4 separate regions of the Homo sapiens genome follow, and all the other regions are linked to region 3. The links are contacts of gene promoters, found by promoter capture Hi-C in human tissues and cell types (Jung and others, 2019). All regions are on one chromosome and are shown on one strand. Each heading gives the region's core, a stretch centred on a gene start or on the middle of the fragment in contact. The rest is flanking DNA. Distances are from core to core; before and after follow the strand shown. Region 1 overlaps SIL1 (SIL1 nucleotide exchange factor). Region 2 overlaps SIL1 (SIL1 nucleotide exchange factor). Region 3 holds the start of PAIP2 (poly(A) binding protein interacting protein 2). Region 4 overlaps SIL1 (SIL1 nucleotide exchange factor).

What was found. The method cuts DNA at HindIII sites, captures the fragments that hold promoters and counts their contacts. A contact is called where the count stands out against the background at its distance.
Region 1: a contact is called between a fragment that was not itself captured here and the fragment with the promoter of PAIP2 in region 3, in 2 of the 25 tissues and cell types used here (dorsolateral prefrontal cortex and hippocampus).
Region 2: a fragment that was not itself captured here is called in contact with the fragment with the promoter of PAIP2 in region 3 in 4 of the 25 tissues and cell types used here (IMR-90 fibroblasts, aorta, dorsolateral prefrontal cortex and 1 more).
Region 4: a fragment that was not itself captured here is called in contact with the fragment with the promoter of PAIP2 in region 3 in 2 of the 25 tissues and cell types used here (bladder and dorsolateral prefrontal cortex).

The regions. Positions count from the first base shown.
Region 1 is chr5:139,069,687-139,072,539 of GRCh38, forward strand. The region is part of intron 3 of SIL1 (SIL1 nucleotide exchange factor); the gene reads right to left. Among named protein-coding and RNA genes, the nearest start is that of SIL1, 130 kb to the right of the region's middle. The HindIII fragment of the contact is 3,786 bases long and covers 1-2,853 here.
Region 2 is chr5:138,977,374-138,980,138 of GRCh38, forward strand. All of the region lies in intron 7 of SIL1 (SIL1 nucleotide exchange factor), which reads right to left. Among named protein-coding and RNA genes, the nearest start is that of LRRTM2, 100 kb to the left of the region's middle. The HindIII fragment of the contact is 4,436 bases long and covers 1-2,765 here.
Region 3 is chr5:139,340,526-139,343,232 of GRCh38, forward strand. PAIP2 (poly(A) binding protein interacting protein 2) reads left to right here and starts at 1,329. Exons shown (of 4, transcript NM_016480.5): 1 at 1,329-1,455. The HindIII fragment of the contact is 8,924 bases long and covers 1-2,707 here.
Region 4 is chr5:138,960,929-138,963,628 of GRCh38, forward strand. All of the region lies in intron 7 of SIL1 (SIL1 nucleotide exchange factor), which reads right to left. It overlaps LOC124901079 (a long non-coding RNA gene), which reads left to right. Exons shown (of 2, transcript XR_007058954.1): 1 at 1-1,293; 2 at 1,406-2,700. Among named protein-coding and RNA genes, the nearest start is that of LRRTM2, 87 kb to the left of the region's middle. The HindIII fragment of the contact is 4,395 bases long and covers 1-2,700 here.

The DNA of each region.
Region 1 (2,853 bases), core at 81-2,580, 270 kb before region 3:
GGATGTCCAACAGTAAGGCATATTCTAGTAAAATAATTGGATTTTAAAGGCAAAGGAAAGATCACTTGGGCATATAAGCAAAAATCAGCAAGTAACTTATAAAGAAAATTAGATTGTCATCAGCATTTTTAACAGCAAAGCCTACTGCCAGCAGAAGATGAAGTACTCAAAGAAAGAAAATGTGAGCCAAGGATTTTATATCCTACCAAAGTGCTTTGGGATGTAAAGAACACTGACAAAGTTAACATACAAAAACACAGAGATTACTGTTTCGATGGGCTCTTCCTGAAGAATTTACTAGAAAATACATCCCAGACAATGAAAATAAGTAAGACCGGCGGTAAACATTACATATATAGTTATTTGTATAAATGCCTTAAATAAGGGCTAAAAAGGAAGTATATAATGGCTACTCTGAGAATATACATACAACACAGCTGGTTAAGAACAATGAGAGCACACACAAAAAAATGTTTTAAACTATTTTCAGTAATCATATCAGGGATAGTATTACTGCCATTCTGAAACTGTTGCATGTACAAAATGAGACAGATCAAATCAGTAAAATTATTACATATTCTAATTGTATAATCCCCTGTGTCCAGAATCAGGACTCTCGGTGTGGGAAAAAAAGAGGCAGATGTAATATCGAAGAGATTAAATAAAAACCCTGCCAGCCGGAATATGAATAGGCAGTACCCACTTGAATGTATGAGGATTATAACATATATTTCCTATCTCTTGTCAACAGAAAAGGCCTAGAAACAATGACCAACACAGCAGTAATGAGCGACCTAATGGCCAGAATGTAGTCTTAAAACTTCTTAGAGAAACAGCTAATTCCAGTCCTGGGAAGGAAATGTACAAGACGAGCTTAGAATATCTTGTCAAACCAGACAGCAAGAAAACTATCAAAGACTATTAGAGTAACATGAAAAGAACTCATTTGAAAACCTTCAACTGACCAAAAATCAAACAATTTCAACTTCAATAAAAGTAATAATTACAATGAATTAAAGCCCATAAAATATGCTTTGAACCTGTGAGTTTGTAAAGGGAAAAAAAACATCTTAATTGGTCATCTTCAGAGGATCAACTCATTATCTTGAAAACTGGTAAATAAGGAAAAAAGAACCAAACATTTATCCTGTCTTTCCTGTATGAATTTTACCACTGAGTAACAAAATAATATATATGGGGAAATACCTCTTTATAAAAGTAGTGCAGCTAAAAATAAAAAAGAAATGATAGATTTGAGTATCACCCTCTTGCAATCCCACAAAAAGAGAATCAATCAGACATTAAGCACTTCCTAATGAAAGAGCACAAAACTGCCTATAGTTTTCCCAAAGGAATGGAACCTGTGTCCGATTGAGCCCCTGGATCCAGCTGACAATTTGCAAGAAATACAGAGGTTGGAGAAACATGCCGAACTGCATCATTTATGAAATCAGCAAAATTTAGCCTGGGAAATGGCCTGAGCTCTTCAACAGACAATTTATAAGAAGAAGAAGAAAAAAAAAAGCAGGGGGTGGGGGTGGGGAATAGATAGGTAACCTGTAGATTCAAAGAGACTTAAAGGATATAACAACGTTTCTTAAATGGGCAACACTATAGTCTTGGGTGCAAAACTTAGTCATAAACTATTTGAAAATGCAAAGGAGCAATTATTGTAAAAATCAGGAGAGTGGTTACATTTGGTAGGAGGGAAATATTACAGTTGGAGGGACCTGCTGAAGTGCTCGGCAAAGTTCTATTTCCTGACTTGGGTGTGACTTCACCTGGTAATAACTCATTAAGCTACATATTTTGTATAATTTTCTATATCTGTGTTTAACTTTATAATAAAAAGAGTCTTAAAGGAGTATATGTTATCTCTGGTGAAGAAACTGGACTTAGAAGGACTTGTACTTCCTAAATTATACATTTCTATAATTAGGATTTTTTTATAGTGAGCATTCATACCTTTTATTATTAGCATTTTTTTTTTTTTTTTTTTGAGACGGAGTCTCACTCTGTCGCCCAGGCTGGAGTGCAGTGGTGCGATCTCAGCTCACTGCAACCTCCACCTTCCCGGTTCAAGCGATTCTCTGCCTCAGCCTCTCAAGTAGCTGGGATTGCAGGCACCCACCATCAAATCTGGCTAATTTTTGTATTTTTAGTAGAGACGGGGTTTCACCATCTTGGTCAGGCTGGTCTTGAACTCCTGACCTCATGGTCCCCCCGCCTCAGCCTCCCAAAGTGCTGGGATTACAGTCATGAGCCACCGCTCCTGGCAAGCAAATTTTTATTTATTTAATTTTTCTGGGATTACAAGTTGCTAAAAACATGACACATTCATGGAAAAAATACATAATTCCTTTTCTAGGCACAAAATAAATTACTTCAAAACTATTAAAAGTATAAAACTGTGGCATATATTTTAAAAAGAAAAAGGGGAGGTAGCTGCAAAAAACAAACCAATCATTTGGTATCTTTTATTATAGGAAGGGTCCATTTGGGCTTCTTTAAAATATGCTGTTATAATTGGGGTCTATTATAAATTATATACCTAAAACATATTAATACATTCTAAAATGAAAAATAACTCAGAATACCAGTCATAAATAACATACACTATTCAAACACGTACTAACACATCCTGCGAAATAGAGATGAATTCAACGAATCAAAAGTATATTGCGAATATAAAACCAGAAATAAATCCATACATGCATTTACAGCCAATTGATTTTTGACAAAGGTGCCACAAAGATAAAATGGGGAAAGGACAGTCTCTTCAATAAATGGTATTGGCAAAATGGAATATCCACATGTAAAAGAATGAAATTAGACCCTTGGTATATTTGTCAT
Region 2 (2,765 bases), core at 79-2,578, 360 kb before region 3:
TACTATCAGAGATTTAAGATAACAAGGTAGGCAGTGCTGTAGTCTGAAACCATGAAGAGTTCCTTCTCTCCCGCAAAGCAATCAGAGGAATCTTTTTTTTTTCCTCCTTTTTTTCTTTTTGACACTAGGTCTTGCTCTGTCACCCAGGCTGGAGCACAGTGGTGCAATCATAGCTCACTGCAGCCTCAAACTCTTGGACTCAAGCAATCTACCTCCCTCGGCCTCCCAAAGTGCTGGGATTACAGGTGTGAGCCACTGAGCCAAGCCAGGGGATCATTTTTAAAATGTAAATCAGATCTTGTTACTCCCTTAATTAAATGGCACCAGTGGCTTCCTGCTACCCTTAGAATAAAATCCAAATTTAGTTCACCTAGGTCTCTAGGTGCACTGCCAACTTCGCCAACCTCACCTCTTCTTAGTCTTTCTTTAGCTCACTCCATTCCAGCCACACTCACCTTCTGGCTGCTTCCTCAACTGGCCAAGCTTGTCCCTACCTCAGGACCCTTGCAACGGCTATTCCTGCTGCCTGGAAAACCCTTGGCCTAATGTACATATGGCTGACTCAATCTATATTTGAGTTGAGGCCAGAATGACATCTCTTTGGAAAAGTCTCTGTAACTAACTCATCTAAAGAACCTTATATCATCCTATTTTATTTTCTTCATAACACGTTACTGACTTAAAAATGCTTTATTGAGGTAAAATTCACATACCACACAATTCACCCATTTAAAGTGTACAACTCAATAGCTTTTTGTGTATTCACAGAGTTGTGCAACATATCACAATTTTAAGGCATTTTCATTGCCCCCCCATACCTATTACTAGTGCCCCCCGCAACTCTCCCCAACCCCCACTCCCTCAGCACTAGGCCCTACAGATTTGAATATTCCAGACATTCCACAGAGATGGAATCATCCAGTATGTGGTGCTTTGTGACTAGCTTTTTTCACTCTGACTTTTTAAAAGTTTCATCCATTCATAACATGTATCAGTACTTCATTTCTTTTTATTGCTAAATATTCCATTGTATGGATATACTACATTATATTTACCCATTTCTCAGTCAACAGATACTTGGGTTGTTTCCACTTTTTGGCTGTTATGAATATTGAGGCTATGCACATTCATGTACAAGTTTTTGTGTGGAATATGGTTTCACTTCTCTTGGGTACACACCTAGCATTGGAATTGCTGGATCACATGATAACTCTATGTTTAACTATTTGAAGAACTAGTAGTGTTTTTCAAAATGGTTGGATCAATTTACATTTCCACTAGCAGTATATGAGGGTCCCAATTTCTCCACATCCTTGTCAACACTTGTTATTATCTATCTTTTTGAGTATACAGTGTTCTCTCATTGTGGTTGGGTTTGCATTTTCCTGGGAGTTAATGATGTTGAGCATCATTTCCTGTACTTACTGCACATTTGCATTATCTTGTCTGGACAGCTGTCCATTCAGATCCTTTGCCTATTTTTTAATTGGGTTGTCTTTTTATTGTTGAATTGTAGGAGTTTTTAATTACGTTGTTTTCTGTTGCTGAGTTGCAAACATTCTTTAGGTATTCTAGATAAAAAGTCCCTTACCAGATATATGACTTGTAAAAATTTTCTCCCATTCGGTGGTTTTCCTTTTCACTTTCTTGATGGTATCCTTTGAAGCACAAGAGTATTTAATTTAATTTAATTTTATTTTATTTTTTTTTTGAGAAGGAGTCTCGCTCTGTCGCCAGGCTGGAGTGCAGTGCATGATCTCGGCTCACTGAAACCTCTGCCTCCCGGGTTCAAGCGATTCTCCTGCCTCAGCCTCTCAAGTAGCTGGGATAACAGGAGTGCACCACCACGCCCAGCTAATTTCTGTATTTTTAGTAGAGACGGGGTTTCACCATGTTGGCCAGGCTGGTCTCGATCTCCTGACCTCATGATCTGCCCGCCTTGGCCTCCCAAAGTGCTGGGATTACAGGCGTGAGCCACAGCACCCAGCCAAGAGTATTTAATTTTGATGACATACTGACTGACTAAAAAATCAACTTCTGACATGTAAAAAGAAACACCTATCTGTCTTGTTCACCACCACATCCTCAGTCTAGCAAAATGCCTGGCACATAATAGGTAGTCATGACTTTTTTAAATAATTTTTTTTCGAGACAGGGTCTCACTCTGTCACACAGGCTGGAGTGCAGTGGCGTGATCTCGACTTACTGCAGCCTCTGCCTCCCAGGCTCAAGTGATCCTCCCACCTCAGCCTCCTAAGTAGCTGGGACTACCAGCACAAGTCACCATACCCGGCTAATTCATATTTTTTAATGAATGTATGAATTTTTAGGGCCAGAGGAGATGAGTGTTGGGATGGGCTATGAGAGAGGGCTCCTTGCCAGGAGGCAGGGGTGAACACAGTGATATCTGGAATCATTTCTGTCTAGAGGAGCTGTAAAGAGTGAGAGAATGCGGTCTTCCACAAGAGCATGGGGGCAGTGTTAGATGCAACACTCCTGAGAAGTGAACGGCATCATCAATAACAAACTCCCTGACTGAAATGCTCAGGTAGTCATCCTGTCTTTTCAGCCACCCGGGTGAGCAAAAGACAGAACAATGGCTCAGGAATGGGGACAACTCAGGCAAAAGGGCCTAGTCACAGGGGTGAGGTTCTTTCCAGAATCCTCAGCACACAGCAACACCCCCAAAGGGGGCTCTAGGCTCTTGCTTTACAAAAACCGCTAGGGGCCTGTGTGTCAGCATGGCTGACAGGAAGCGGTTATAC
Region 3 (2,707 bases), core at 79-2,578:
GAGGGAATTTTTTGTCTTAGTAAATACTACAAGCATATAGTTTTTAAAAGATTCAAATTTTTCAGGAGAAAAGGATAGTTATTTGCACCCATTTCCTAGTCGGTCATTTGCCCTCTCCAAAGGGAAGAAATTAGTTTGTGTCCCTTTTTCAAAGATAGTATCTACACATTTGAACATCCAGATTTGTAAAACACATACTCTCGGCCGGGTGCGGTGGCTCACACCTGTAATCCTAGCACTTTGAGAGGCGGAGGCGGGTGGATCACGAGGTCAGGAGATCGAGACCATCCTGGCCAACACGGTGAAACCCCTATCTCTACTAAAAGTACAAAAATTGGCCGGGTGTGCTGGCGTGCGCCTGTAGTCCCAGCTACTTGGGAGGCTGTGGCAGGAGAATCTCTTGAACCCGGGAGGCGGAGGTTGCAGTGAGCCGAGATGGCGCCACTGCACTCCAGCCTGGGCAAGAGAGCCAGACTCCGCCTCAAAAAAACAAAACAAAACAAAAAAACAAAAACATACTCTCTTCTTTACATTGCTTAGTGTCACTAGAAATATATCTTGGGGCTTGTCAACGATGACAGGAAGGAAGCATGGGTAAGAATAACTATGGGGCCAGTGCACCCAGGATCACGGACTACAAAATTCTTGAACCCGGAGGTCACACTTTTCTATCCTGTGTGGACAGGGCATTTCCTCCTTTAGCCACAAAGAAGTTGCACATGTATTTGTATTTTGCGTTTGCATCCAGCTTCAAAAAGTGTGTTTTTGTGCCTGCACATGTCTGAGTGCGGATGTTTGCATATCATTTAGTACGCCTCTGTGATTTCCCTTAGTTTATTATTTTTCTGTGTCAGGATCTTGACGTGACTCGGTGCATGTCGCTGTTTGTGTGACATTGTGTATCATTCTTGGGGTGTGTATGGGTATGTGTGTGCTATGTCATTACCTAAATATTACGTTTTTGGGGGGGTGTGTGATGTCTGTGAAAGTCCACGCCTGTGTATCTTGTCAGGGTGCTCTTCAGTCCCCAGCTGCCTCACTCATTGCATATCATCATTCTCGGAAGATGGGCGGGTGTGGGAACAGTGGTACGCCCCCATTCCTGCCTTCCAGAGAGAACGTGCGACAGCGTTCCTGCTACACCCGGCAGCCGGCCGTAGGGGCGCGCTGGAAAGGCTGCTGCGCGTGCACACGTGTGCAGCCTTGGAGACAGACTTCGGGGTCGCGCGTTCTCGCGCGCGCTCTCTAGTGGCTTCGGAGGGCAGAGCTGACAGAACAAGAGGGCGGGGTTGGCGGCGACGGAAGTGAAGTCACTTCCGGGCTGGGGTGTTTGTTTGGACTGGAGAAGGGAGGCGGCGGGCGAAGCGCACGTCGAGCGGGGGAGCGGCGCTGCCTGTGGAGATCCGCGGAGGCCGACAGGATTCGTTGGCTGCCGTCCCCGCTGCTGTGCATTGGGTGAGGGGTCCTCTCGGGCAGAGTGGCGACAGGGGTGCGGAGGTCGAGGGACAGCAAGTCGGCGACGGCAGAGGGGCCTAAAGGGTTCCCTGGGTGGTTGGCCACCGAGTCCATTGCGGCCTCCGTTGTTCATTGCCTCTTTCCACCAAGTCTGAGGGATGAGCTTGGGCCGACTTCGTCTCTGTCTTCTCCGAGACATGGCCGTCGCTTTTTTTTCATTGTCATTATTAATGATTTGGATCTCGCAGCTCTCTATCCGGGTCCTCAGTGGCGCGAGGGTTGCCGGGATAGCACTTTCTCCTGTTCCTCATTCTCCCGGTCCTTTATCCCTCCGCCGGGTACCCTTTCCCCTGCCCCCCTCCCACCGCCTCGGCAACAAAGCTTATTGTTTCTACCCACTTTACGCCTGCGCGTCGCCACGCGCAGCCCCTACTTGCTGCGCGTGCGCGCCTCAGCCGAGGCTGGGGTTTGGGGAGAGAGGGGCGGAGGGACTGGCGGGCTCTTGGCGTCTTGGGGGAACGCTGCAACCGTCGACGGGCCTGATCAGAAGATCGTCTTTCTCCCGTTTCTTCGCCATCGCTACCCCTTATTTTTGGTTGTATTGCAGCTCATGCCCTGGAAAAAAGAACCTTTGGGGTACTGGGAACCCTTACCCTAGGAGGGCGTTGAGTTAGATGAACTTTAAGGTCCTCTTACCTTTTAATAATTTTCTGTGCTTACTCTCCTCCTTCCCCACCATCGCCACCAGAAATAAATAAGGCTTGTGGTGAACTTAGGTCTTCAAAACATTTGTTGCAGCAGCCAGCAGTGATATTTTTTAGGGACTCCTAAAAGGGGTCTTACCTGCTTCCTTTTGTTTCTTTTTTCCCTGATTTGGCACCCGTATCAACTCATAAAAACCCCAAACTCTAGAAAGAATTTGGCTTCCAATTTGCCTTGGAAGGTGTAGCAGCTGACAGCCTTTGACGTTTATTTCAACGGAAAGTAGATGTTCATGTTGGGTGTGCTGGCTAATGTTGAAACGTGGTGGCATTGTTTTTTCACAGATTTCATTAGCACAGTTAGATCAGGTGTTGGTTTATATTTTCATTAAGTCGCTTTTGAAATTTCTTCTGGCGTAGGTTGTGTTTGCAATAAGTAAAAGTTCTCTACAATAATTTTTAATGAGACTCCACTATTTGCTTTTGTGATTCTGTTTCCAGTTAGTGAAAGACAGGATATTTGGGGAAAATTAGTCTGTTTATACTACTTG
Region 4 (2,700 bases), core at 21-2,520, 380 kb before region 3:
TCTTCTGGGGTACTGATAATGTTACATTTCTGGATCTGGGTGGTGGTTACATGGGTGTCTCCACTTTCAATAATTCATCAAGTAGAATGTGTTAAACTTTTCTATATGGAGGGATGGGGGAGGGAGGACTTAAGCATTAAACTAGTCCAGCAAGACCTGGTTTTATGGAACCCACACTAACTCTAAGAAATGACCTCTTTTCTTTAAAAATACTCTTAAGTCACATCTCAAAAACTTGCTCTGTTATTTTGAAAACCAGAACAGTTGCCCATTGTGTCTCCTTGCCCCTCTCCCAATCCCCATAATGCCATAAAGATTTCTGCACACAGTTTGATGATGATGTCCCTAAGTTTCTGTCTGGCATTTAATTTTTCAGACCCTGTCTAATTTGGAGAAGCCAGTGGTTCATTTACACTTTTTGTACACTCCTGGTCTCAAGTTCCACTTAACTCTATGTTTGTTTTACTTTCTGCAGGAAGGCCATTCTCCTTGAGAGAGAAGGCAGAGGCAAACAGAATAAGCAGTAAGGACAGAGATGCCCTCTATGGCATCTGCTAAATCACCTGATTGAACCAGGTGGCCTAAAGCCTTCCTTGCCATCCCTCTCACTCTCAACAGTAGCTGCACAGGCGCCTTTGTTGTTCTTAGTGTTTCCCAGGTCTCACCCATCTGGTGCTCCTGACACTGTTCTCGGAGGTTGCATCCACTTCTCTATTTGCTCTTGGTTACAGGTCCCTTTTTCATCTCTAGACAAAATCTCAGCTCGAACTGTGCCCCCTGAAGCCATGTGGGTCTCTTTAGGTGGCTCCCTGTTCCCTGCAGTAATCACTCGTGACTCTATTAAGTACACTTCATTTTTCAAACTCTAAGTCATCTTTCCTTTTGAAGCTCCTGTTCAGACATCATATCTACTTTTTCCTGGACCCTCTGAAATTTACTTTCCCTAAAACTCAGAGGCAGAGAGTTTTACCTTCCCCTTTTAGCTTCTCCAAACACAGTCACTTTCTGCTGATGTTCTCTAGACTTTTTTTTTTTTTTTTTTTTTACCAGACAGATCCTTCTTGTTGCTCAGAATATAATTTCAGTGAGGCCCTTCTCCTTATTGCTTCCTTAACCTCCTGAGAGAGAAAACTGTCAGAAAAGAGAATTAAGAATTAAAGCAAGTGAAGAATTTATTGGTTTCTTTTTTTTTTCTAGAAGATTTCCAACTGCCCAGATACCCCGTGCACCACGCCAGTTTGCTTCTGTGCCAGTTTTATAATTTCAATTGAGAAAGCCTCTTCTACACGGAGGGTAAAGAGTTGACAATTACCTCAGAGTTGATTGGTTGGTTAGTTTTTTGGTGGGCTAAAAGCCAATGACCTGGACTTTTTCCATTTTTTTTTTTTTCCTCTTCACCAAAAAGCCCAAACCCAGGAAGCAAAACACTGAGTGCTGCTCTGGAGTCAGAGAGACCTAGGTGAAAGTCCGAGATTCTAGTGTTTTCAGCTGTGTGACTGAGGTAAGTTACTAAGCCTCTCTGTACCTCAGTTTCTGCATTTGTAAAACAGGGATTAATAACAATAATATTTATCTCATGGGATTGTTGCGGGGATGAAATGTGATTTTATATACATAAACATACCCAGAGTTCCTGGCAAATGCCAAGCATTAGGATAACAGCTGTTTTATCATAATATACCATTTAACAAAAATTATTATTTTTACTTTTCTGCTAAGACAGAATGCCAGGGTTTTCAGGCTTCTCAGAAGGGAGAGGAGCTATCTGTGTTGGGGGACAAAGAAGACCTCCCACTGAGTGGCCTTAGATTCCCATTCTCAGCTCCTCTGACTGGATAGACAAAGCCAGTACAGAAGGAATTCATGGGGGAGAAATGTAATTAACAAGCTAGAGGGAGAGATTGGGAGGAAGGATCAAAGCAGCTAATTAGAACTGGCTAAAGGGAGACCACAGGGTAGGGAACATGGAAGAAAGCGGGCTAAAGAGAATTATCTGCAGCCTCTAATTATTCAAAGAATGTCCCTGAGTAATTGTCTCAGGCAGTCTGAGGGAGGCAAGGCAGGAGTAACAAGGTTAAGCAGAAGAAAATTTAAGCTAAAACATACGGGAGATTTTTCACACACTGAGATTTATCAACTTTATTAGAGAACACAGAGGATGTTATTTTAGGTCTTCTATACTCAGTTGGTGGTATAACTATCCCCATGTCTGGTGGCTGGGGGAGAGCGGAGGAGGCCAGACCCTGCAGGGCAAGAGGGGATCCAAGGAAATGGCCCACACAATCCTTGCTCCAAGCTTATAGGCAACACACCTTGTCAACCCGCCCTTTGAGGCTCAGGAAAGAGCTTCCTTCCTCACTCAGATCTGCACTCCCTCCAACCTCCACATCCCCTCACCCTCCTTGTGTTCTGTCATAAACTTGATAAACATGATAAATCTCACTGTGTGAAAAATCATCTCCTCAATCAGAGCCAGTGGAATCACGCAGGGCCTATTTTGCGTTTGCCACACAACTGTAGGAATGTTTATGAATGAGCCATCTCTTAATAGCAAAAGAAAAGGCAATGATCGTAGGACGGTCTATAGCTGAAAATGACAACACTGAAATACTTCGTTTACAGGATTTGGAAGTCGTATAGACTACAAATCTCTCTGCTGTGCAACACACATAACAAGTCCCCAAAATATCCTTTGTTTGC